Regions from separate parts of the Homo sapiens genome. Here all the other regions are linked to region 4. Evidence: promoter capture Hi-C in human tissues and cell types (Jung and others, 2019). All regions are on one chromosome and are shown on one strand. Each heading gives the region's core, a stretch centred on a gene start or on the middle of the fragment in contact. The rest is flanking DNA. Distances are from core to core; before and after follow the strand shown. Region 1 overlaps HIBADH (3-hydroxyisobutyrate dehydrogenase). Region 2 has its middle 100 kb from the start of TSL. Region 3 overlaps HIBADH (3-hydroxyisobutyrate dehydrogenase). Region 4 holds the start of EVX1 (even-skipped homeobox 1). Region 5 overlaps SKAP2 (src kinase associated phosphoprotein 2). Region 6 overlaps HIBADH (3-hydroxyisobutyrate dehydrogenase). Region 7 overlaps LOC105375211 (a long non-coding RNA gene).

The links. The method cuts DNA at HindIII sites, captures the fragments that hold promoters and counts their contacts. A contact is called where the count stands out against the background at its distance.
Region 1: a fragment that was not itself captured here is called in contact with the fragment with the promoter of EVX1 in region 4 in 3 of the 25 tissues and cell types used here (bladder, liver and mesendoderm cells).
Region 2: a fragment that was not itself captured here is called in contact with the fragment with the promoter of EVX1 in region 4 in 4 of the 25 tissues and cell types used here (H1 embryonic stem cells, mesendoderm cells, spleen and 1 more).
Region 3: a fragment that was not itself captured here is called in contact with the fragment with the promoter of EVX1 in region 4 in 2 of the 25 tissues and cell types used here (mesendoderm cells and small bowel).
Region 5: a fragment that was not itself captured here is called in contact with the fragment with the promoter of EVX1 in region 4 in 2 of the 25 tissues and cell types used here (H1 embryonic stem cells and neural progenitor cells).
Region 6: a fragment that was not itself captured here is called in contact with the fragment with the promoter of EVX1 in region 4 in 3 of the 25 tissues and cell types used here (hippocampus, mesenchymal stem cells and mesendoderm cells).
Region 7: a contact is called between a fragment that was not itself captured here and the fragment with the promoter of EVX1 in region 4, in 2 of the 25 tissues and cell types used here (liver and mesendoderm cells).

What each region holds. Positions count from the first base shown.
Region 1 is chr7:27,650,135-27,653,829 of GRCh38, forward strand. The region is part of intron 1 of HIBADH (3-hydroxyisobutyrate dehydrogenase); the gene reads right to left. It overlaps LOC105375211 (a long non-coding RNA gene), which reads left to right. Exons shown (of 3, transcript XR_007060268.1): 2 at 2,466-2,516. Among named protein-coding and RNA genes, the nearest start is that of HIBADH, 11 kb to the right of the region's middle. The HindIII fragment of the contact is 6,446 bases long and covers 1-3,695 here.
Region 2 is chr7:27,514,162-27,517,458 of GRCh38, forward strand. No RefSeq gene overlaps it. Among named protein-coding and RNA genes, the nearest start is that of TSL, 100 kb to the right of the region's middle. The HindIII fragment of the contact is 4,432 bases long and covers 1-3,297 here.
Region 3 is chr7:27,531,874-27,535,314 of GRCh38, forward strand. All of the region lies in intron 6 of HIBADH (3-hydroxyisobutyrate dehydrogenase), which reads right to left. Among named protein-coding and RNA genes, the nearest start is that of TSL, 82 kb to the right of the region's middle. The HindIII fragment of the contact is 3,145 bases long and covers 323-3,441 here.
Region 4 is chr7:27,241,131-27,244,584 of GRCh38, forward strand. EVX1 (even-skipped homeobox 1) reads left to right here and starts at 1,672. Exons shown (of 3, transcript NM_001989.5): 1 at 1,672-2,327. The coding sequence starts at 1,901. EVX1-AS (EVX1 antisense RNA) reads right to left here. Exons shown (of 4, transcript NR_120507.1): 2 at 785-880; 3 at 419-511; 4 at 299-320. RefSeq lists an enhancer at 1,290-2,167. The HindIII fragment of the contact is 9,702 bases long and covers 250-3,454 here.
Region 5 is chr7:26,856,653-26,860,025 of GRCh38, forward strand. The region is part of intron 1 of SKAP2 (src kinase associated phosphoprotein 2); the gene reads right to left. It overlaps LOC124901606 (a long non-coding RNA gene), which reads left to right. Exons shown (of 3, transcript XR_007060265.1): 3 at 812-889. Among named protein-coding and RNA genes, the nearest start is that of SKAP2, 6.3 kb to the right of the region's middle. RefSeq lists an enhancer at 770-1,371. The HindIII fragment of the contact is 4,413 bases long and covers 1-3,373 here.
Region 6 is chr7:27,630,793-27,634,275 of GRCh38, forward strand. It overlaps HIBADH (3-hydroxyisobutyrate dehydrogenase), which reads right to left. Exons shown (of 8, transcript NM_152740.4): 3 at 1,544-1,653. Among named protein-coding and RNA genes, the nearest start is that of TSL, 17 kb to the left of the region's middle. The HindIII fragment of the contact is 6,193 bases long and covers 1-3,483 here.
Region 7 is chr7:27,696,075-27,699,838 of GRCh38, forward strand. The region is part of intron 2 of LOC105375211 (a long non-coding RNA gene); the gene reads left to right. Among named protein-coding and RNA genes, the nearest start is that of HIBADH, 35 kb to the left of the region's middle. The HindIII fragment of the contact is 3,939 bases long and covers 1-3,285 here.

The DNA of each region.
Region 1 (3,695 bases), core at 336-2,835, 410 kb after region 4:
AGTATTCCATATTATCTCCCTTAATAATGTGTATAAAAGACAGAAAGTATTCAAAAAGACGTAAGTCTTGGACCAGCTTCAAGAATGGAAAAACTTTTTACCTTCCCACTCCCACAGTTACAGAAACCATCCCCTCCAATGATACAAAAAAAAAAAAACTCAAAAAGATGTTAAACCCAGGAGAATGGAATCACCAGTTTATAAAGGTGGTCCTGGGGTAGAAAGGGGAGATACCTCCATAGGCTTTAAATGGCAAGTGTAACAGTATCAGGACCTTGGTCTAACAACTCTGAACTTTCAGAAAAGAGAGACTTCCTTATTATATTTTTATTTATTTATTTATTTATTTATTTATTTATTTATTTATTTATTTTTTGAGACGGAGTCTCACTCTGTCACCCAGATTGGAGGGCAGTAATGCAATCTCGGCTCACTGAAGCCTCTGCCTATTGGGTTCAAGCAATTCTCATGCCTTAGCCTCCGGTGTAGCTGGGATCACAGACACGCACCACCATGCCTGGCTAATTTTTGTCCTTTTAATAGAGACAGAGTTTCACCATGTTGACCAGGCTGCCATTAAAAAAAAAAAAAAAAAAGCCTTAAAAACTACACAGGTTTTATTTATTCTTTTATTTTTCATATAAGACTTTTTGAAATTACTCCGTGGGCATATGAATCAAAGTAATGCGTTACAGAGTGGGGAGGCTTTACAGTACTATGGAAATAGCGTTAGATGCAATTTTTCACTTTCTAGATTTAGAACTCCACTCAATAAATATTCACTGCATGAAGTACTATGACAGAGCTCAGAGACAGACACAAGCAACGTATGGTCCCTGTCCTTTAAAAGCTCACAGTCTAGTGAGGGAAAAGAGAGAAGTAACTCTCCTTGCTCTTCCATTTCCCAGCATTCTTTTTCTTTTTTCTTTCAAGAACTCCAGCTTTAAAATTTGTAGTGCAACAACTAATCACAGTCCCTCTTTTAAGTTTCAGGTCCCCTCAACTGAACTTAATCTGCTCTTCCCTGAACTGAATCTGAATGGAATGAGATTTGTTAAAAGCAAATTATTTGAAGCCCTAATGCTTAAGAACTAGAGGTCTTCTTGGGTTGGAAGCATATTTAATTCCTTTAACTTAATGACTGACTCTAACACTTCCATTAAATGTGGGTGTCATTTCTGTGCAACATCATTTAACAGGCGCTAAGTTTAATACACTGGTATAATAGTACACTGGTATAATAGTACACTGGTATAGTTTGTCTTTCTGGCCTGCAAGGAATTCAATGACAGAAAAGTGACACCAAACTGAAATTTTATTTTGATATTAAACAGAATGAGTACACTTCATCAGAGAACTCTAACTAATGCTCATAAACAAACTAGCAATAATAGCCAGAAAGAAAATGTGGCATTACTGTGTTAAGGTTGAAAAGGTGTAATTTAGCAATCTAAAAACTTCAGCAACTAGGAAGATTATAATTTAAAGACAGTTAATTTAACAGGCAATTCACTCTAGGTCAAACAATTCATAAGTATGGTCACGTAGAACCACAATTCATTCACAAATTCAACAAACACTAAGCAACTATCACATGTACCAAAAGAGATGCCAAAGAAGGTAAGAGACACAGTCCTTGCCTTCAACAAGCTTAAAACCAAGAAGAAATAAACCATGTACATAAACACTAACATAAGACAGTTAAAGATAAAAACACAATGCTGATGAAAAATGAGAATTCATGGTGTGGGAACTTGAGGAATGTGGCATCTGACCTGGATATTATACAAGGGGTAGGATTTCAAATGGATAGGAGGGTAAGGAGGAGGGGAACTCCATACAGAAAAAGGAACATGAATATATACAAGGAACTAGAAGAGCCATGAAGAAATGACAGTAATAGTTAATATTTACTGCAATTTTACTACATGCCAGACACTATGCTAAGCACTTTATAAACAGACCTATTACCATATGCTATATATGAAGCCCATCTTACAGCTGAGAACCCTGATGCTGAGTTGAAGTAAAATACCTAATACTTTACTAAGTTGTAATGCCAAGATTCAAATCCAGACATTCTAATTCTAGAGTCTCCACTTGTAAACATTGTATGATACTGCCCTCTATTCTTCCTAAAGAATGCACAAAGAAACAAAACAGCAAGAGATTAAGATTAAAAAAAAAATGCAACCATAATGTGGAAGGATAGAAGGATGCTAAACAACTTGTATTTTGTAGGCAAGAGGTAGTTATTGAAACAGTGGGCAAGAGAAATGACAGATGAGACTTACACTTTAGGAACAGAAATGAGGCAGCAGTGTACAATGAATGAACTTGAAGAAAAGAGCCTGGAGGCAAGAAGACCAATATAAAAGTGACAGTAATCCTCTAGATGCCTTAGTTTGAGCTACTATAACAAATATACCATAATGGCTTAAATAACGAACACTTATTTCTCACAGTTCTGGAGGCCAGGAAGTCCAACATGAAGGTGACAGCAGATCCAGTGTCTGGTAGGTCCACTTCCTCGTTTGCTGATGGCCATTTTCTCACTGTATCCTCACATGGTAGAGAGCAGAAAGAGAAGCCACTCTCATGTCTCTCTGTACAACAGCACTAATCCTATTCACAGGAGCTCTATCCGCATGATCTAATTGCCTCCCAAAGGGCCTAGCTCCTAATATCATTATATTGAGGGTTAGGAATTTTGGCCAGGCGCAGCGGCTCACGCCTGTAATCCCAGCACTTTGGGAGGCCAAAGTGGGTGGATCACCTGAGGTCAGGAGTTTGAGACCAACCTGGCCAACATGGTGAAACCCAGTCTTTACTAAAAATACAAAAATTATCCAGGCATGGTGGCATGTGCTTGTAATCCCAGTTACTCAGGAGGGTGAGGCAGGAGGATTGCTTGAACATAGGGGGTGGAGGATGCAGCGAGCCAAGATCGCACCACTGCACTCCAGCCTGGGTGACAGAGCGAGACTCCGTCTCAAAAAAGAAAAAAAAAGGAATTCAACATATAAATTTTGTGGGGACATAAAATTTCAGTCCATAACAAAGTCAAAATTAATAAAGTGTGGTAGCCACAGGAAAAGACAGGTATAAAAACTATTTCAAAGACAGAAGTAAAAGGATAAAACAATGGATTGGATTATAGGCTAAAATAAGGGTGAGGTCCAAAATGACAGTAAGAGAATAGTGTTATCAATACCTAAGTGAAGAAATCAAGGAGAGCTGGCTCAGTTTTACCCAGGGTAACTATGAACTGTCAATGAGCTGAAAAGATGTCCAACAGACTATTAGAAATACCATGACCGGCCGGGCGTGGTGGCTCACGCCTGTAATGCCAGCACTTTGGGAGGCCGAGACGGGCGGATCACGAGGTCAGGAGATCGAGACCATCGTGGCTAACATGGTGAAACCCCGTCTCTACTAAAAATACAAAAAAAATTAGCCGGGTGTAGTGGCAGGCGCCTGTAGTCCCAGCTACTCGGGAGGCTGAGGCAGGAGAATGGCATGAACCTGGGAGGCGGAGCTTGCAGTGAGCTGAGATCGCACCACTGCACTCCAGCCTGGGCGACAATGTGAGACTCTGTCTCAAAAAAAAAAAAGAAATACCATGACCAAGGTTTCAGTGATAGGATGAGAAAAAAGAGATATACCTGGTAGCCATTTGTCTCAAAAGTTAAGAG
Region 2 (3,297 bases), core at 741-3,240, 270 kb after region 4:
ATCAGGACCCTGGGAGCTTTGGCTTTGCCTGTGTTCCTGGACAGCTAAAGGAAGGGGAATTACTAGTTCCTTAGTAATTTTATTAGTAATTCAAGAGAATTACTAATAAAAACTGGGGTTATCTCATTCATTTGTTCATTCACTCATGCACCAAACAAATGCTGTGTGTGGGATCCATCCAGTGTGCCAGGTGCTTGTGATACCTCAGTCACAAAACCACAGTCCCTGCCCTCATGGAGCTCATGTTTGAATGTCTACTCAGGCAGTGGACATGCTCATTTGCCTGGTGCCAGCCTGTGGTAGAAATGCAGGTGCTGCCACGCATCAAGAGGCCTCCTCAGTAGGTAGGTGGGTTGGAGCCTTCTTGTCAGTGCCCATCTAAAGAGCCCAATAAGGAGACCAGGGCATGGAAAAGGATGTGAATCACTTTTCAATACTATTACATAAAACAGCTTAAGATGAATGAATACAGGAGGTCCCTGCCTATAAGACGCAGGTCTGTGCCCATATGGAAGTTGAGAGAGATGTGGACAAAGGCAAGCTGGAAGAGATCTTCCCATCAGAAAATAGTGGGGTTGGGGAAAGGTGACAGCAAGAGGGACTGCAAGGCCCTCTGAGGCCTCACACATGGTGCCTTGAGAGATATAGAATACCCCCAGTTTTCTTAGGGAGGGTTGCAGCTGTTTTACCTGGTCTCAAGTAGATTTTACTAGAATGCTCTCCCTAGCCATCTTCACAAGCAGACTAACAAGGCCTCCTCTTCCTCCTTAGCCTAATCAAATCCATCTGGAGAGACAGAGGGCATGGCCTCCCTTTACACCCGCTATCCATCTGAATTACCTGGACAGGACCCGGAGTCTTGCTCACGCCAGTATGAAATTGTCCCTAGGCTCTCCTGACACTTCCCAGAGCTGCACTGTGTCTTCCTGAGTGCAATGGATCCAAGGTGACATTTACAGGAGAGTGCTGATTTGATCTTGCTTCTAGGAAGCAGGGTAAGGCTGAGGTCCTTGGCCTTGACAAGGCAGGACCCAAAGGCCAAAGGTTGCTATTTAAACACACGTTTCTAGCTGAGCAAGTTAATGTTGCCAACGTTGACAATATTTAAAAAACGTCTCCCATAAGCAGGATGCTGCTGCTGCAAGCCAGACAAAGAAGCACCCACTGTCCCCCGGCAGCTCACTGCATGCTTGGAAGTCAGTTGAAAACTTCGGAGATCACTTTGTTTTACTCAGAAACTGCTTATTTTTCAAAGTTAAAATTTTTCAAAGTTAATATTTTTCAAAGTCACAATTAAGCAGTTTCTGATTTTTTGTTTCTACTGAGCTGCTCCATTTGTTATCTGTTAAGTGATCAAAATAGGCAAAGGCTTTCTTTTGACATTTTTCTTTTTTTCTTTTTTCTTTTCATTTTTTTTTTTTTTTTTTGAGATGGGAGTCTTGCTCTGTTGCCCAGGCTAGAGTGCAGTGGCGCAATCCCGGCTCACTGCAACCTCTGCTGGTAGGGTTCAAGTGATTCCCATGCCTCAGCCTCCTTAGTAGCTGGGATTACAGGCACGCACCACCACGCCTGGCTAATTTTTGTATTTTTAGTAGAGATGGGGTTTTGCCATGCTGGCCAGCTGGTCTTGAACTCCTGACCTCAAGTGATCCGCCCACCTCAGTCTCCCAAAGTGCTGGAATTACAGGTGTGAGACACCACGCCCTGCCTCTTTGGACATTTTTCTCACTCCAACAATTTAAGGAGAAGAGAGGTTCTTAGTTACTGACAGGAAGGTGATTGCCCATTATTCTGAAACTCAAAAATAAAAGTGCAGAAAGATTGATCAGAGGATTTGCTCTCTCTGGAAATACCGGTCTTGCCATCTTTCAAGCAAATAGCGGCTCACTGGTAGGAATTTCAAAACCTGTGCTTAAACTGCCAAATTCCTTTCCTCTGCTGTTCCCATTTCTCTGTAATGATGGCCCCAGAAGGGAGGCTTGGTGCAGGCTGACGCTTTCTCTGCCTTGGGCAGCATGGAATGTCTCGCCTTTGACACACAGCCAGGCTCCAAGGAGGTCCTCCATAAACACTTGTGGATACATGTTTGTGGTCTGTGTCTGCAGTGCATTTACCTTCTCTACCTTCTCTATTATAATTCACATTAGTCCTCCTTTGTCTCTCTAACAATAGAGAAGGGTAGGAAAACCTTTTTTGTAACCTAATTTCAAACTCATCACCTATTTCTTTCATTACAACCTTCATCATTTACAGCAAGCAAAGCAAGCCTTAGGTCATCATTTTCCCATTAGTAGAGGACAGCAAGGGTTCACTTTATATGAATATTCTTTCCCTTTCCCACAAAGTAATGATCTAAGACTTCTAGCTAGGGGGAAAAAAAATGGTGTTCTTCCCAACCTGGAAATGGCATTGCTCATTAAGTGACTGAGGCTTGCTGAATCCTATGCAAATCAGTCCTGATGAGCCTTTAACTAATCTGTTTACAAACCAGACCTGCTAGACAGGCCTCAGTGATTTTCTATCAAAGCAAAAAGCACTGCTCTTTATGGGCATCTGGCTGTCCCTGAATGGGTAGTTTAAACATAGACTCTTTCCTTCAAAGTAAGATCAAAGGCTTTATGACTCCTAAATGAGTGCATTATTTCCACTTACTACCTTCTTGTTTGCAATTTGTGTTTATTAACAGCACTGTCTCAGGTTTACTTTGTGAATTACTAGTTTCTGAAAACAGTATGGCAGTTTTATGGACCACAGTATACATTTGTGGAGATTATGTAGCATATAATATATAGAATGGCCCATCAGACAGGACATTAGGCAAAGACAGTTCTCTGCAAAGATGACAATGCCTGACCATGCAGAATACATTCATGATTTTTTTAAGGAAACCATCTGGCATAACAGGGCTAACACAAGAAAAGATTCCCCAGCTCTCCAGATTTGATAACTCTTTGACTACCTTAGAAGAATTTTCTTTGAAATTTTATTTCTTTTGAAGAGAGTAAGTACCTAAAGCTGTATCGTAGGTGAGGGAATGCCACTGGTACTTTTCAAGGAGAAGCACAAACAGGTTCTTTTAGAGAACAAGCAGATTGTTTTAAAAACCACAACAAAGATTCCAGCATGTAACTAACCACTTAAGAAACCCTTCTTTTAGTCCTTCAGCTAGCAGCTTCCCAGTGCGAAGACAGAGGTCTCTATCGTCCCTGGTCCTAACACAGAGATTAGAACCCTGTCCTTCACTCCCACCATCCAATTCATCTTAGGAGGATAAAGCTGCCAAGAAAATTGCATCTT
Region 3 (3,441 bases), core at 645-3,144, 290 kb after region 4:
TGTAAACGAGCTTAAGAAAAGTTATTATAAAAGAAGACTTTTTGCTGCAAACTTTTCCTTATTTATTAAATCTTTATTAGACAATCTTGCTTATGAAGCAAGTCTGCACAGAGTTGTGACATATGCTATCTATTCAGAGACATGCATTATAGTTCTGGGTCAACTGCTGATAAGGTTACTGATCCTGATAAAACAAAGCTTGCCCAAGCAGAAACATCATTTGTTCTATCACTGGGCTGATGGCATAAACGGCTGTTCAATGTGGACCCTAGAAAAAATAATAGAATCAAAATGCTCCATTACTTGGATTCTAAAGATATAATGCAGTTTGGGAAGCACAATTTTGCTAGGTATCACTGAATCAAGTTTCAAATAAAACTTTATTCCTAGCAATTTATTTGGTTTCTTTCATACACAGAGCCATTATGAAACAATTGTCATAAAAGCTTTCCACTTTTTCTTAAAACCAACCTCTTCCAGAAAATAAAAAAAACACTGAAAAGAGACACTTATGTAAATGTTAAACAAACTGTGCATCTTGGCACGCTCAGATTGTTTACTCTGTGTGTCTAAAACACATGCCTGTTTATTTCAAAATCTGAATATCATGGCCAATAAAACATTTTTTCAGATGCTAGAGCAGGGGGCTGAGGCTAACAGCCAAAAATATGTATGGAATTACCACATAATACAACTGTTATGTAATCAGGCTTTCAAGGGGTAGCTGTGGTTCCCAGACTGCTATGTGGCATATCATGTATCTGAATTCATATGGTGGCCCATGTTATAGTGATGGATTTTACTAAGGATTGTAACAGATACAGAAATTCAGTCTAAATTGGCTATCATTCATTCTGTTCAACTGTAGATTCCCAGAGAGAAACCCAACAGTTTCATTCATTCTTTTATAAAGATCCAAGTTCACTGCATGCATAGTATGCTACTGATGCTTGCTTTCTCCTTTTAAATAAGATTAGGCTATCAGTATGCTACTGTAGTATATCACTTAGGAAAAGATAAAGCCAGTGTGCTTAGGGAATAATTGTGAAAAGTAAAATCACAATTAACAATTAGTTAATTTGCTATAACTGCAAAGTACCAAATGTTCAAGAATGCATACATCTAATATGCTCCATAAGGAGAAAATACTTTTAAAGACTCCAAAACGTCACTTTCTCTCTCCATTTGAAATATAATTTCAGGGCTTCCTAACTTAGATCTTTTAAGATGGTTCATCATATTTAAAGCAGCAGAATTCCTTCCTTCTTTCTAATCTACCAGGTTACACTCAGTAGTAGCTCACAAGAGCTTTTACAGCTAAGGAAATTCACTCTTTTCTATAATATTCAACAAAATGGTGAGCAAAGCTAATTATCCTAACTTTGTAAAACCCTACATTTTTCTTGAATGTTCAAGGAAAAGTACTGGTATTGATTGATGGAAACCCTTTCTGGTGAACACATTACTATTTAGAAGCATCCTGAGGGGCACACACAAAAAATCAGGTGGCAGTTGTTTCATTCTCACTTTTCAAATCTGATGCTTCCCCACCGTGCTGATTCCCTTCAGGAGATAGTTATTCCCTCTCCACTTCCCTCCCCCTGCCCCCACCCGCAGCAAAGTGTATCATTAAAAAGAGCAAGTTAGAAGTGTTTTGCATTTCATCTTTCTGAGGATTCGTTCTCTGGCACATACATAACTGACAGTTAAAATTAGACATGATATTAAAATCAGTTACTGAAGTCCTCTGTTTTCCACTGTGCCCAAGGCTTGTAATGGTCTGAAACCAGCTAGAATACACAGTAATTGTCATTCAGAGTCTATCCTAGAACGTCATGCTTCACTGGAGAAGACTGAGTTTCCATTCGAAATCAACAAATTAATCCAAGACAGGTATCTGAAAGGGCAAGTTTAATAGGAAGCAGCTACTGGGCTCTCAACCATGATAAAATGTTATTGCTGTTTCCCTGTAAATTGGCTGGGAACATATGATACTTTCTGCATAAGAGCCCCATTGCTGTTCAGAAGATATACAGCTCAAGCCATCAAAAGAATGACAGTCTGTCAGTCCCCATAATAACTTGCCACTGGATGTGGTTCGAGAGTGCATGCGTGCATGCATGTGGCTTTACAATTGCTGGAATGTTCTCTGATATAAACAGAATGAATTCATCGCTCTGACTGCATATATAATGCGTCTCAAATAAACGTCACTGTGTCAAATCTACTCACCTCTAAAACAAGAATTTTAAATGAGGTTTGGAAGAAGTAAAAATAATGCATAAACTGCAAAAAAATTTAAAAAATTAAACATTTGCCTTCACTGTAACCAAGACTTTAAGGGCCAAAAATGTTTGTTTATATTATCTGTGAGTAATCTATACTGTCTGGTTTCACGTAAGAACGAAATAAATTATGTCACTAAACTGGGATGTTTGTATCACAGGAACAGATCTGGAAATGAAACATCTAAGACCATGTCAGTTTTAATTAATCAATCACTTATCCATCAATGTTTACTCAGATCTGCTATATCCAAGTGCTACACGTGCAGCGAAGGAGACAGTAAGAAGGAAGCTAAGAGGAGGCTGTGCCTGTCTGCCAGGAGGGCTGAGTTAAGACCCACCTGGATAACTTTTACCTTTGGCAAGAGAAGTGCCATATCTTATCCCCTCACTCACTCACTCCCCTACCTCCTCCCTCCTCTCCTTATTTATCTGACAAATCTTCACTGGGTGCCTAATACCTGCCAGGTATATTCTTAAGATATGGCAATGAGTAAACAAACCATTTCCCATCATGGAGCTTCTAGATGGGAAGACAGGTAATAAACAGACAAATAAATATGTAATGCCAGCTAGTGAGACATGTTAGGAAGAAAAAGATTAAAGTACAATTTAATTTCAAACAATAACCACCTCACCACAACCACAAATATCATTACCACATATCGACACCTACTATGTGCCAGAAACTATTTAATAAGTTTTATATGGATTAACTCACTTAATCTTCACAACAACCCAGTGGATAGATGTAATCACTTTTGTCATTTTATAAATGAGAAAAGCTTAAGTCTGTGGGACAGCTTGAATGCAGACCTACATGTATGCCCAAATGCCATCGTACTGGCTAGTAGTTGACTATTAAGTAGGTGGTAAACTTAATAGTCAACAACTAGCCAGTACGATGGCATTTTATGAGTTTATTAAGAAATTTGTATGATGGATAAGTGAATGATTTGGATTGACATGGTCTTAGATGTTTCATTTCCAGATCTGTTCCTGTGACACAAACATCCCAGTTTAGTGACATAATTTGTTTTGTTCTTATGTAAAACCAGACAGTATAGATACATACAAAGAACAAGCTTTTTGGCCATTTACAAATTACAAACCTTTGCCATCTGTTATATTTATTAGGGTAAACAACTAAGGCTCC
Region 4 (3,454 bases), core at 422-2,921:
AGAATACAGAAAGAGAAAAAGGAGGAGAGAAAAGTAGGAGATAACAGATAAAAAGGTCACGGAAGAGGACTTACCTGTAAAAGCTGGGGCTTTGCTAGGGACACAGAAAGGAGGGAGGTGCTGGGCTGCCCTTTGCAGCTGGCTGCCTAGGGCTAGAAGCTCTTCGGGAGGAGGCGGAGAAAGGGGGGTTGAGCATAGAAGGTGCCCACCTCCTGCTCTCAGCAATGTGGGGATAGACTCAGCCCACCCACCTGGCCCCAGCACACTTGCTTGGAGCTCAAAAAGGGTCAGTTTGAAGGAGTTTTATACCAGCTTCTTCCCTGGGAGAGGAGCCAAGAGAGGCCTATGGCAGCTTCCAGATATTAAGTTCCACAACCCCTGCCCCCACCTCCAGCCCTTCATCAGAGTCCCTACTTACTTGCTGTTTTAGGGCATTTTCAGCGACTTCACTCTCTTCTACCTCAAACGCCATCCACTTTTGGAGACAGGTACCACTGCCCCTAGGCAGGGACTTGGGAGAGGACCTTATGAGTCAAACCTCTATGAACCCCAACCTTTTTGTACTCGGGGAGGCTGAACCCCTGCCCAAAATAGCGCGGTGAAAGCTACTGCCTTCTCCCAAGTAGGGGCCTCCAGTACTGCCACAGCAGGGGCCGCATTCCTGGCGCCTCTTCATTCGAAAAACCTCTTTCCAGGAGACTTCGCTGATTCTGAACGAATACTTTAAAATATGGGCAAGGGAAAAAAAAAGACAACTCTTAGAAACTCTCCCCACCCAACATACCTGGAGTGCAGGCGAGGTCCAGGCAAACGGGAAAGCGACTTCTTGTACGAATAGCCATCTCAAGATGAAGCCAGGCTGTGGAAAACTTAAGGCCATCTAGATGGGAAGGAGGTATTTAAAAGAAATCAGCACACACTCTTACAGAAGCCAAGGCGGGTCTTTAAATTAAAAAATAATAATAAGGTATTTATTTCTTGCCCCTTAGGGAAGAAAAATAGCAAAGTTTGGTTCGCAGGAGTAAGGAGACAGAGGTGGGTAGGGAGAGGGAGGAGAAAAGAGGAAAAGATGGCCCAGCCTCAAGCTCTCCAGTCAACTTGGGGCGGGGGAATACATTTTTCCGTAGCTTGTAAAAAGACTTTTCAGCCAGTTTGAGGTTAGCTGCCAGGGGCAGACAGTTGTAATAATGCCGACAGAATTGAGGCTTGTAAGCCGGGCTTCACACTTCTAAAATGCAGTTATGGATTCTTTCATCGGTGTTAGATCAAGGCACCAAGTTAAGAAAACAAAAGTCAAAACAACAATAAAAGAAAAAATCAAAAGCTTATTTAATTACCGAGTCCCGCTGCCCCTGCGGAACTCGCCGCGCGCGTTAAGCTCTCTTTTCTTTCTGCGGAATTCCATTTGCATCCCCTCTGCCTGGGTGTCTCCCTCTCTCAGTGTGTGTGTCTCTCTGTCTGTTTTCACACTCTCCTCCCCAATCGAGCGAGGCCCACACCTGGCGCATCACTGCCGAGCCATTAGCTGCGGGTTTCCTTTCATCTTCGCTGTGGCAGACGTTTCTATTTATCCACTTGCGCTCGCCGAGTGGCGTCACCAGCGGTACTGTAATGACGATTGCAGCAGGAGGATGACAGCTTAGAAAGAAGAGGGCAATGGGGCTTCCTCCCAGAGGCGGTGCGGCACAGAGGAGCGCTCGCTTCACAAGGTGACCCTAGCTCCCACCGCCACCGCCGCGGTCGCGGTCCAGACCGCGCTCCAGCAGCTCCGCGCCCTCCCAGGCACCCGGCCTTTCTTTCTCCCTCTTGCAACCAAGATCCGTCCGGCCGCTGGAGACCCAGGGAGCCGGGGTTAGGAACTCACTTGGGGCTTTCCCCTCCCCCACCGGAGAGCCCCGGGATGGAGAGCCGAAAGGACATGGTTGTGTTTCTGGATGGGGGTCAGCTTGGCACTCTGGTTGGCAAGAGAGTCTCAAATTTGTCCGAAGCCGTGGGCAGCCCGCTGCCGGAGCCGCCCGAGAAAATGGTGCCCCGTGGTTGCCTGAGCCCTCGGGCCGTCCCTCCGGCCACCCGGGAGCGCGGCGGGGGAGGCCCGGAGGAGGAGCCGGTAGATGGACTCGCAGGCAGCGCGGCGGGGCCGGGCGCCGAGCCCCAGGTAGCTGGGGCGGCCATGCTCGGCCCAGGACCCCCGGCCCCCTCAGTCGACAGCCTCTCCGGACAGGGGCAACCCAGTAGCTCGGACACCGAGTCGGATTTCTATGAAGAAATCGAGGTGAGCTGCACCCCGGACTGCGCCACCGGGAACGCCGAGTACCAGCACAGCAAAGGTAGCCACCGTGCCCCTCCGCTCCCCGGGCCTCCCACTGCGCCCACCCTTCACTTCGGCGCAGGCCAGGAGGAAGACACTCCCTTCCCCTAGGGCAGGATGGCTGGGGGGACCCACCTGAGCAACTCTCTCTGCTATCTGCGTTCTGGCGGGGGTCTCCTACTGTGTTCTGGCATTGGCGGGACTGAGGGTGACAGCAGTGCCTTGAGTGCGGGGTGCTGAGGGGGCGGATGCAAGTCCTGGACTTGGGGGATTCGAAGCTCACCCCAAGCACCCAGTGTTTCAACTGCTCGGGGAATGCTTCAATTGCTCGGGGAAGACACTTTCCCCAGGCGAGGGCAAGATCAAACGCCGATCCGGGCAGTTTGTGGCTGGCAGGGTGTAAGAGGCATGGAGGCGCGGAAGCCAGGAGTCCATAAAGGACCGTAAAATTGCGGCCCACTTGGGCAGCCCGGGTGCTGCAGCCCTCCGACCAGTTTGCACGTCGGTCAGAGGTCCAAATTACCTTGTCACTTCCCGGGCTTCGCGGCGCCAGGTCGGAAATGGTCCCAATGGTCTAATTGCCTTTGGTCTCCGGTTGCATTTGAAAAGGCAGAGATCGGGTCCTCCCCCCTTCCCCTTTCCTTCCTAGTCCCACTTCTCCACCCAAAGGAAAAGGAGCTGCAGGGGGCTGGAGCCCCACCCTTCTCAGAGGTAGGCCCAAAGGGGGGCTGGTTTAACTGGAGAACCCCTCCCCACCAAAGGCTAATGGGAAAGGGGTGGATAGCCCGGAAGGGAGTTTCCCTCTGTGCCAACAATCACCTCCCCAGAAGGGGGTAGAAAACTGGGCGCGGGTTGGTGGGGGGGAGGAGAGGGGAGCCCACCAGCAGACACTCCTCCACAGAACTGTAGGAGTGGGTGGAAAGAGCCTGGGGGCGGGGGGGAGAAAGACCACCCCCTGGTCTTGGCAGCCAACGCCTTGTTGAATACCTGCACCTACCCCTTACTATCTTATCACCGATTTCACCCAGCCTCCTTCCCATAACCCTCAGAACAACCTGGACTCCACTCACATATACTAAGGTAATAAATAAGATACTCAACATGCATTCTCACTCCAGCCCTGCAATACACGGAACCTAGTACACA
Region 5 (3,373 bases), core at 207-2,706, 380 kb before region 4:
TGAGATCATTACAGTAACTTTTGCAAGAAAGTGGAATAAGGGAAGAAGCAACATCCCTACTGCTGATTCGTCTTCCAACCAGACTCAATAGGAAGAATCACTGGCCCAATGACTGGGGAATAGTCTGCTTAATGTTATTTTCACTCAATGTTTGCCTTTGATTTCCTCTTCCATGAGTATTTAATTGCCTATTTTATATTTTCATTATACAATCCAAGTTTAAACAAACAATCTATTTTCTATCACTGGAAGTAATAACAATGAATTGCCCCCAAGAGTTTTTTTCTTTAAAAGGTCATTTCAGTTTTATAAAAATTCAGAAAAAAAAAAAAAAGGCTGCAATAAACACTCTACATAGTGCCCTCTAACGCCCCCAAACATGTTTTTAAAATACTGATCCATGTTACTATTTTATGACAAAGTTTTTTTTGAAAGAGTGTGGGACTGTAGGAAGAATCGGTATTTTTCAAGGATGCCAGAAATTCAGAGATTGGGTATGGTCTTTTTTTTTTTTTTTTTAGAGTAGCCTTTTTTAATATACTTATTCCTAAGCTTTTCCCAGAAAAGGTTTAAAGCAACTAAAATTATTTAATAAACAGTGACTTTTTCGTGATTATTTCTCAAAGGTGATGTGGAGAGAGTAGAAACTGCTTTGCTTAAAAAAAAAAAAAAAAAAAAAAAAACTTTAAACTGGAAGCAGTTCCCGAAATAATTTTAGTTTGTTGACTGTCCACAACCAAACTTGGTTGGTTTTTAAGCTTTTGAAATCTAGGTTATTTCTTAAAATCTACACTTTACCCGTTTCTTTTAGAATCGAATGAAACCAGCCTCTTCCAGGCACAGGAGACTCCTAGACGTGCCGGTGGCGTTCGGCCGGTGTCTGAGCAACACACCGATCCTGATCTCGCAACGCAAAGACAGACCAAGCGCCGCAAAGAAGTTGTAGGGCTGCGAGATGCTCCAGCTCTGCCCTCTGAGAAACGCACTTCAGCGTTAAACCCCAGGGTTCCTCTCAGGCGGAGCAGTGAGCATGGAGAGCCGGGTCTGGGGCAGAGCCCTCACTAGACAAATGGGGCTGGATCTGTGGCTTTGTAGCTCAGAGCCAGGGTAATATTTCAAAAGCAAGCAATAAGAGTCTTGGGCGAATCAAGTGTTCCTCTGGCTGGTTGGAGAAGAGATTTGAAGCTTCTTATTGTGCTCTAAATAGCCCTGCAAACGGTAAACTAGCAAGCACAGTAAACTAGCAAGAGCGTTAGCCTTCTTCTACCTTCCTTTGAGGGTCGTGTTCCTCGGTTAATATGTAGATTTCACCATTCCTGAGTGCCCGTAATTCAGGGAAACGCAGTAATTTGATAACAAGAAAAGGTCAGCCTCCCTCGCTCGACCCTTAGCCCGGTTTTTAGAATTCTTCCTCGGAGGCAGGGGCTCAACTCACACTCTCACGCATACTGGCCACGGGAGAGAAGCGTGGGAGGCCCACTCTGCGCCCGCGGGAAAGGGTTTAACTACCAGGTCTAACTACCCCCACCCACCCCCATCTCCTGCCTCCGGGCCGGCAGCCAAATAGACTGCAGAGTCTACACTGCTTGCATTTAACCCCAGAATTACCCCTATCTCCATCAGCCTCCACCCCAGCCCAAGTCATCAGCAGGAAAAAGTTATCCTGGTGAAAGTAAACGTGATGGGATTTTAGCTCCTAATACACCTTAACACTGTCAAGAGTAAACCTTATCTCACGGTACAGCTGTAAGGATCTGGGGGAGAAGGCCTCTGAAAAGATCAGATTTACAACTGCTCTGTCGATAAATGTTAAGGTCTGAAAACAAAATTAAAAGTTGACGTATACTGGCTCAGCAATCTTGAGCAGTTTAAGTTAGAAATCTCTCAATTGCCATGGAGACCCCTAAGAGGCAAACACACCAAATCACTGAATAGTACTCCAATCTTCCTTTTTCCCCCCTTTTAACATATAGACCTCCTAAAAAACAGCCACCCCACCTTTCCCTGGAGTCGCAAGTGGTTGGGACAAGTATCTAACACACACACACTAACTGCTTTCTGCCAACTTCTACACAGATCACATAGTGAAAAGGTGGAACTACACCAGGTCAGAACAGTTTAAATTTTTTTGCAAATGATAAAGTAACTCTCAGCTTCTGGATGTAGTATCTAGCACAGATTCCCACTCTTGAAAAGCAGTTTGGCCACTTGTCCTCACCACCCCCGACTATCAAACAGCCTAGAATAGGGCTTGCATACTGGAGGTTAAAAACAAGTCACAAAGGTAACACCTCCTCTTCCTGCCTAGTCCTCCAACCACCCAATACCTCCTGGCCCATGCATATACACACACTCAGCCTCTGTGATGGCCTGAATTGTATGGGGGAGGGGGAGGGCGCAAGAATTGGGCTGAATCTACCACCATATGCTTAGCCGCAGATCAATAAAATAAAGGTAAAACCAATCACACAGCACCCCCATGGCCTTTCTAACTTAATTCCACATCTCTCTCTACATTGTGAATTGGGCCAGATTTCTCTCTGCTTTCATTGAGATGTGCTGTCACCAAACTTAATATGATAGGGATCCTACCCTAGAATGTAAGCTACCATCAGGAAAAAAAAAAAAAAAAGACATGCTCTTCTCTGTTAAAGCAGGGTATGGCTCTGACCAAACAGGTACTGATAAACATAAAAATCAATTAAACTGGGCACATGCAAATCAACAGAGCCAAATGCCCAAAGTTGGAAAATGGCTAATTGAAAAGTTATTGATTGTTCTAACTGATGTCTTTCCCTGATTACTTAGCACTTTTACAGGTTACAGATGAACTGTGGACTTTTCAAACATGGAAAAGGTGACATGAACTGGCACAAGAGCTCTCATGGTACAATGGGTAAAAAATACCAGAGTCTTACAATCCAATCATTGGACAAAATTTCCAAAATTGACTTTGGGAAGCTAAATGATGTATTTTGATAGAAAGCTGGGCTGTTTAAAGGTAGGGCTGAACATCTTTCAACCCTAAAAGATGACTCTTGATAAATAGCACCTTACAATAATCAAAATCTTTTTACTACATATTTTCAAAGAAGCCACAGTGAATAACACATTAGTCTGAGATTTACACTATATTCAGTTTTAGGCAGCATCTATTGTAATGTGTTCAGAATGTGATTGAAAAAGAAATGTAAATTCAGTGGAATGAAAAAGAGACTTAGCTTTAATTGAAAAAGACAAACTAAGTGAATCATGAGTATATAAAATCTAGCCTATGCCACTTTTATCACCCATATATGACACTTAATCTGAAATTTATGAGACAACTAAACTGTGTTTCAAATCACCAGCAGCTTTTCCTACTCTGTTGTGT
Region 6 (3,483 bases), core at 967-3,466, 390 kb after region 4:
ATATGAATTGTTACAATTCAAATGCAATTGTTGGGTATATTTCACAGAAGAGAAATAGCATACTCCAAGAGTATGTAGGTTTCTCTTTAGCCTAAAAGAATAAGAATTAAGTTTATCAATCTGTGATCTTAATATTTTAAGATCTTAAACCTTTCAACAAATGGAAAATCATCCCAAAAATTATACATGCACTGGGTGTATGGAAATGATCCTCACCCAGAAAAAAATAAAGAATCACCCATAAGAAGCAAATTATAGTTCAATGTAAAGTCAAACTTTTTAAAAACACTCCCTGGACCAAACTGTTCTGATAGCTAGTCACCATATTCCTTAGCAAAGGATATTAACAAATGTAGGGCTATGTCTCCTCAGAAGTTTTTAGTAACTTTTCTTTCAGAGGTAAAGCAGGACCATAACTGTAACAGGCTAGGTAACAGGACAGCTAGGATGCCTCTGGACCACACACACTGTGGCCCTGAGAGCTCCATCCAAAATGAGTGTCTTTTAACCTTCCCTGAAATCTAAACATTTATCTTATCAGTTTTCTGCCTAATATCCAAGTGTCTTTTGCTTCCTTCCAAGTTGGTTAGTTTTCCAACACAATTCAATTACCAGAAACTTCAAATTTCACATATTACAGTTTCCTGAAATTACACCCTTTCTTTTAGCCCTTCTTGTGACTACAGTGTCTACCAGTTTGCTCTAGCTCTTTGCTGAAATTCAACAACAAAATAAGTTAGGAATAGAAACAGTGACATGACAAAACTAAGCTGGGAATTCAATCACTATCATCCTAACATAACCGCAAGGGTTTGGCAATAAGCAGCAATTAACCAAAAGGTTTCTCAGAGCCAGGGAAGACAGGCACTGATTAGGAAACTGACCTAAACTGTATTTTACTTAACCCATTTATGCCTAGTGTTCCATTTATGCTAAGTTTGTGGGAGTTATTTACATCCTACTGCTCAAGCAGTACATCCTACTACTCAAGGTCATTGCCAAGGTCTGATTTTTCACAAAAAAATTTGCAACCTCTGACATAAATGGGTTAAAGAGCTACTGCTAACCTTTAATTCCAACTTCCCAAAGTTCTTACTACAAACGTACTAACCCACAGGACATAACTTTTTTTCGTATAATAAAATGTTAAACGATGGTGTTCTTTCCAATGTTTGGCTATATTTTTCATAAAACCCTTTTCCTGAATTTCTATAAGCTGTAAGAAAATTATATTATTAACAGTTGCAGTTTCAAATGTAAGCTTTAAAAGTCTCTTAAACATGTTACTAGTGAAAGGGTAAGTTTAACGCAAGAGTTAAAGGAAAGAAACGGAACCAAAAAATTTTATACACATTGTCACATACTTGACTTCAGTGAAAAAATAAGCCTTTTACAATGAGAAAACCACCACACTATTCACTTTATGAAATAAAAACAGTATAGAAAGGTTTAACAAACACAATTGTAATTTCCTAATAGTTCTAACATGTGAAATTCATGAACTATCATAACAAGAAAATATCCACAGGTGAGAAATACATACTTTAGAATCCCATTTGCTCCGGAATAAGCTTCTATTGCATTGATACTGGTGGGCAGCATTGTAATAATTCTGTCAGCTTTTTCAGCAACATCTGCTGGGGAAGATACTACCTTTAAAAAAAATTGCAAAGGCACATTATTTAAATTAAAATGTAAGCAGTTTCTAGAGCACAAACAGGATCCACTTTTCATGCATGCCTATAACAGTGACAGTGCATAAAGACTAATCCTTGTTTGCAAATGACCAAAAAAAAAAAAAAAAAAGCTTACTGCCCAAAATAAAGGCACATCATTATACATATACAGATGCAGTTTCTGTGAAATCAAATCTATCGTTTATTTTTAAAAGTGTGAAGGGAGTTGAGGGTAAAAGGGCAAAACCCAGCAGTCCTGGGAACAGACACACTTCTCATGGGTTCTTCCAAGTTGGATTCCTAAACAGCATAATCTTTGGTATACACTTTGACTAAGAAAAATATTCTAGTACAACAACGCTGGTAACTCAACTGTAGGATTCATCAGTGATTTGGTGGGCAGCAAAATCCCCTAACAAAATCTCAAGTCCCAGTCCCCACCATCCTCCAGTCTGTATTTTCAAGCAAAAAAAAAAGAAGAAAGTATCTGTTTCAGAAAAGAAAAGTCTGTTTCAGAAAAGAAAAGGTCAGGACAAGGACATAAACACTTACTACAATGACTGCAAGTACCACCAGGAAGGCTAACAGTATGAGCTACCGAAACTTACGTGGAAACTACATACAGAATAAAGATATATGAATAGGCATCAGGGCACTCTCTCAACCCTCATTTCTGCTTTAATAATGACCACGAACATACTGCAAAGGAAAATTGCGCTGTCTATCCTGTTTGCTTAGGTGCATGCATGAGTAGATGCACTGTTACTCACATCCCCCATCCCCAGCTCTCTGGCTCTTTTCCACATATTCACCTTGATAAACCTGGCCAGCCAACTGGCAACCAAAGAGGTCAGGAGAGACCAGGAGCTCCTTCCTTGACTCAAACTCTCCTTTAATAGAAAGAATCAGCTGGGCACAATGACTCACGCCTGTAATCCCAGCACTTTGGGAGGCCGGAGCAGAAGGATTGCCTGAACCCAGGAGGTGGAGACCAGTCTGGGTAACACGGTGAGACTCCATCTCTACCAAAAAATAGAAAAATTAGCTGGGTGTAGTGGGGCGCACCAGTAGTCCCAGCTCCTTGGGAGGCTAAGATGGGAGGATAACTTAAGTCCAGGCGTTGGAGGTTACGGTGAGCTATGATCGCGCCACCATACTCCAGCCTGCCTGGGCAACAGAGCGAGACCTGTCTCTTAAAAAAAAGAAAAAGAAAAGAAATCCGGCATCCCAACTGTCACAACATCTTCTGCAAAGCCTTTTTTCTCTTCATTAAAAAAAGACAAAAGACGATCAGGCAGATTATTGAGGATTTCTCTCCAGAATGAGTTACATATGTAAAAACTAACATATTTCTACATACATTATGCATGTAGAAACGTATTTCTACTAGAAAATGTGAAGGGACATGTAAGCATCTTACAAATAGGAATGCCTCTGCTTTTCATGTGGCAGAAGTTTACACATGTTCTTTTTGTATTTATGTGCATTTGATGAAAGTAAAAGAATAGGAAGCCAAACAGAGTGTGTAATCTAAATATTAAGAGCTAGAAGTAATTACATTTCAGTTTTCCACAAGAGACTATCAGCTTCTAAATCAAATTCAGGATAAATGTAGCTTTAACAAAAAGCAGTTTCATAAGTCACTCTTTAAAATTTCAGTAAATCAAGTATCCTGGCATATTGTGTATTAACAAGCTAGGAAATGATATTATAAAATATCTCAGACCCTAAAACAACAAAAAAAGATATTCTCTTTTAATGTTTCACTCTAAAGACAATACAGCATTTTATAATCTACAATGAGATA
Region 7 (3,764 bases), core at 66-2,565, 450 kb after region 4:
TAGATTATACTATATAATTTGTGAAATGATACATGTTGGTCATTTAACATGTGAGCCTTAGATGGCAGAGACAGAATATATACATAAAATAGTTTTTTGGCTTTTTAAAAGAGACAGGGTCTTGCTGTGTTGTCCAGGCTAACTGGAACCCCTAGACTCAAGTAGTCCTCCTATCTTAGGCTCTTAAGTAGCTGGGACCACAGGCATGTGCCAGGAAAAATTGTTTTTTTAAAATATAACTTTGTATAATCTCAGTTGTTACAACTAGCCTGTATTATTTTTATAGTTTGAAAATCCCCAAATTAAGGGAAGTATAAAAAAAATTACATGACTAAGTTTAACATAGTTTCTAGATTCAATAGTAAATTTCATACTGATTCAGGATTCATTTGTAAATTTTCTAAATTTCATCTAATTATAAAAATATTAAATATTCATTTAAGAAATACTGAACAACAGAAAATCACACAAGTACAAAGAAAATAGGTAACACCAATAATTCCAACTCTTAGAGATAAATATTATGAACATTAATATTTTGGTGTAATTATTTCTGGTCTTTTTTTTTCTATGTATGCTATGTGTGTGTTTGTATATTTAAAACAAAAATTAAAAAAAAATACTTTCTATACCCCACTGTTTTTGAAACCCAACAAAGGTTTTCCAAAAAATCAAATATCTTTTTTTTTTGAGATGGAGTCTCGCTCTGTCGCCCAGGCTGGAGTGCAGTGGCGCAATCTCGGCTCACTGTAAGCTCCGCCTCCCGGGTTCATGCCATTCTCCTGCCTCAGCCTCCGGAGTAGCTGGGACTACAGGCGCCCGCCACCACACCCAGCTAATTTTTTGTATTTTTAGTAGAGACGGGGTTTCACTGTGTTAGCCAGGATGATCTCGATCTTCTGACCTCATGATCCGCCTGCCTCAGCCTCCCAAAGTGCTGGGATTACAGGCGTGAGCCACCGCGCCCGGCCTCAAACATCTTTCTTTAGCAGCAGTGTAGTGACTATACTGCACACTGTAAGGGCAAGGATTATATTTGACTAAAATGAAACGGTGATTTAAACACAAAAGCAGGCAGTTTAGGGATGGTGTGGTGGTTCCTTGACGTCAAGGCTGACTGTAATTGTGGGGCCCAGTGCAAAATGAAAATGTGGGGGCCCCTGTTCAAAAATTTAAAAAGTGTTTCATTAAGAGTACTGAAACATAGGCTGAGCGTGGTGGCTCATGCCTGTAATCCCGGCACTTTGGGAGGCCTAGGCGGGCAGATCACCTGAGGTCAGGAGTTCAAGACCGGCCTGGCGAACATGGTGAAAGCCCGTCTCTACAAAAATACAAAAATTAGCTGGGCATGATGGCAGGTGCCTGTAATCCCAGCTACTTGGGAGGCTGAGGCAGCACAATCGCTTGAGCCTGAGAGGCGGAGGTTGCAAACAAACAAAAAAAGAGTACTGAAATATAAAGATTTTTCTTTTCTACTGGGACCTCTCTCTTGACTTGCCCTGGTGTTTTTTTAAAATTTCCTATTGTTGATCTAAGTAACAAAAAATACGTAAAAACGTAAATTGATAGCATGAATTTTACCCTTCATCTTTATATTAAGCAATGCTAGTTTTAAATGCAAATATAAGAACATTTAATGTGTGTACATGAGATCACCGAAATCACATAATTCATATTTTATAATATGTGTGTGCATTTGTACTTTGTTCTTAACCAGAAGAATGAAAATGTTGCACAAAATGAAATTAACTGTTTTTATTTCACTTCTTGATACAAGCAGCTTCTACCAACACTTTCTACCTTTGGCTTACTGATAAGTAAGGAAGGACTGAAATTAAAAGGAACTATGGGCTGTCTAACTTCCCTTTTCCTTCTATGTTATTATTTTCAGGGTAAGTTGTTGACTACTACAGGGAAGTAACATAAGTAAGAAATGACACAACAGGATTCCTTGATTGTTTATGTTCCTAGAAATGCCACTGCCTTCTTTCTGCATAGCAAGTTCTAGTTCAGATGGAAAGTGTGGCCTCTTGGGGCCATCAGTACTCCAATTAATTAGTCATAGATCTAACACATTTTCCTTGTACACTCTGAGTCTCATTGAACTCTCACTCATTGTGGGGCCTCCGGAATTCAGAGCTCATGAGACTACATGCAAATAGGGCAACAAGAAACAGCAGACGTGCTGATTGTGTGTAACTTCTCTTTTCACACACATGCTTCCTTGTTCTACTAGACTTTATGTAGAAAGCACAACCTCAGGCTCGGTGTGGTGACTCATGCCTGCAATCACAGCACTTTGGGAGGCCAAGGCAGGCAGATCACTTGAGCTCAGGTGTTTGAGACCAGCCTGGGCAATGTGGCAAAACCCTGTGTCTTCAAGAAATAAAAAAATAAAAATAAAACAAAACAAAACAAACGGACGTGGACGCACATGCCTGTAGTCCCAGCTACTTTGGAGGCTGAGGAGAGAGGATCACTTGAGCTCAGGAGGCAGAGGCTGCAGTGAGACTGCACTGCAGCCTGGGCCATAGAGGGAAATCCAGTCTCAAAAAACAAAACAAAACCAAAAAATATAACATCAAAGATGACAGTTATTAAAAGTTTCAAGGTAGCAATAATAGAGCATTGAACCACATGTGAGGCCCTTCTGAGCAGAGGTCCTTGTATGACTGCACACTCCAAATCTTCCAGGATTTGGTCTTCTTTATCTTTTTCCTCCTTCATATGAGGGTCTCCAACCTCAAGGTCACTTCATGGTCCAAGCTGACTGTTGAAGTTCAACATCAGCAAAAGGGGTGCAAAGAAGTCTCCCCTTTGGGCTGAATCAGCTCTCTAGAGGGAGACTTCGCAGAAGCCCAGCTCTGCTTTCATCTCATTAGCCAGAACTTAGTGATGGGACTACACTTAACTCTAAGGACAGCTGGAAAATGTAGTCTTTTTGCTGGATACATGGCCACCCAGCAAGAAATAAGGCTTTTACTAAGAAATAAAGGTGAATGGATATGGGTAGGCAACTAACAGTCCCTGCCATACCAAGTGAAAAAAATATTTAAGCAAACCTTAATTTTTATTTACAAAAATCAGGTTGTATCTGATTTTTCACCATTATCGACATTACTTGCAAACTTTTCAATTGTGTCTTGCTCTAAATTTTTAAAAAACACATCCCTAAATACCAAGTACACTTCTTTGGAATAATTTTCTGTTTATTAAATCAAATTAAATAATTTGTATTTAATTAAGCTTGCAACAATAACAGTTGAGTTCTTTTTAAAAAGGAGGGCAATTGAATGTTTATATTGATATTTAGTCCTGACATAAGCTTGACCTTGTGGGTCAAGGAATAGATGGCTAAGATAAAGATATGTTAAATTATGATTTTCTTTCTTTCTCTTTCTTTCTTTCCTTTCTTTCTTTCCTTTCTTCTTTTTTGAGACAGTCTCCCTCTGTTGCCTAGCTGGAGTGCACTGGCACAATCTTTGCTCACTGCAACCTCTGTTTCCCCGGTTCAAGCGATTCTCATGCCTCAGCCTCCCTAGAAGCTGGGACTACAGGCACGTGCCACCACACCCAGCTAATTTTTTTGTATTTTTAGTAGAGATGGGGTTTCGCCATATTGGCCAGGCTGGTCTCAAACTCCTCACCTCAAGTGATCTGCCTGCCTTGGCCTCCCAAAGTGCTGGGATTTCAGGCGTAAGCCACCATGCCTGGCCTAAATTATGATTTTCTATTCTTGTACAGTATTGCTAATTAATGTGTGA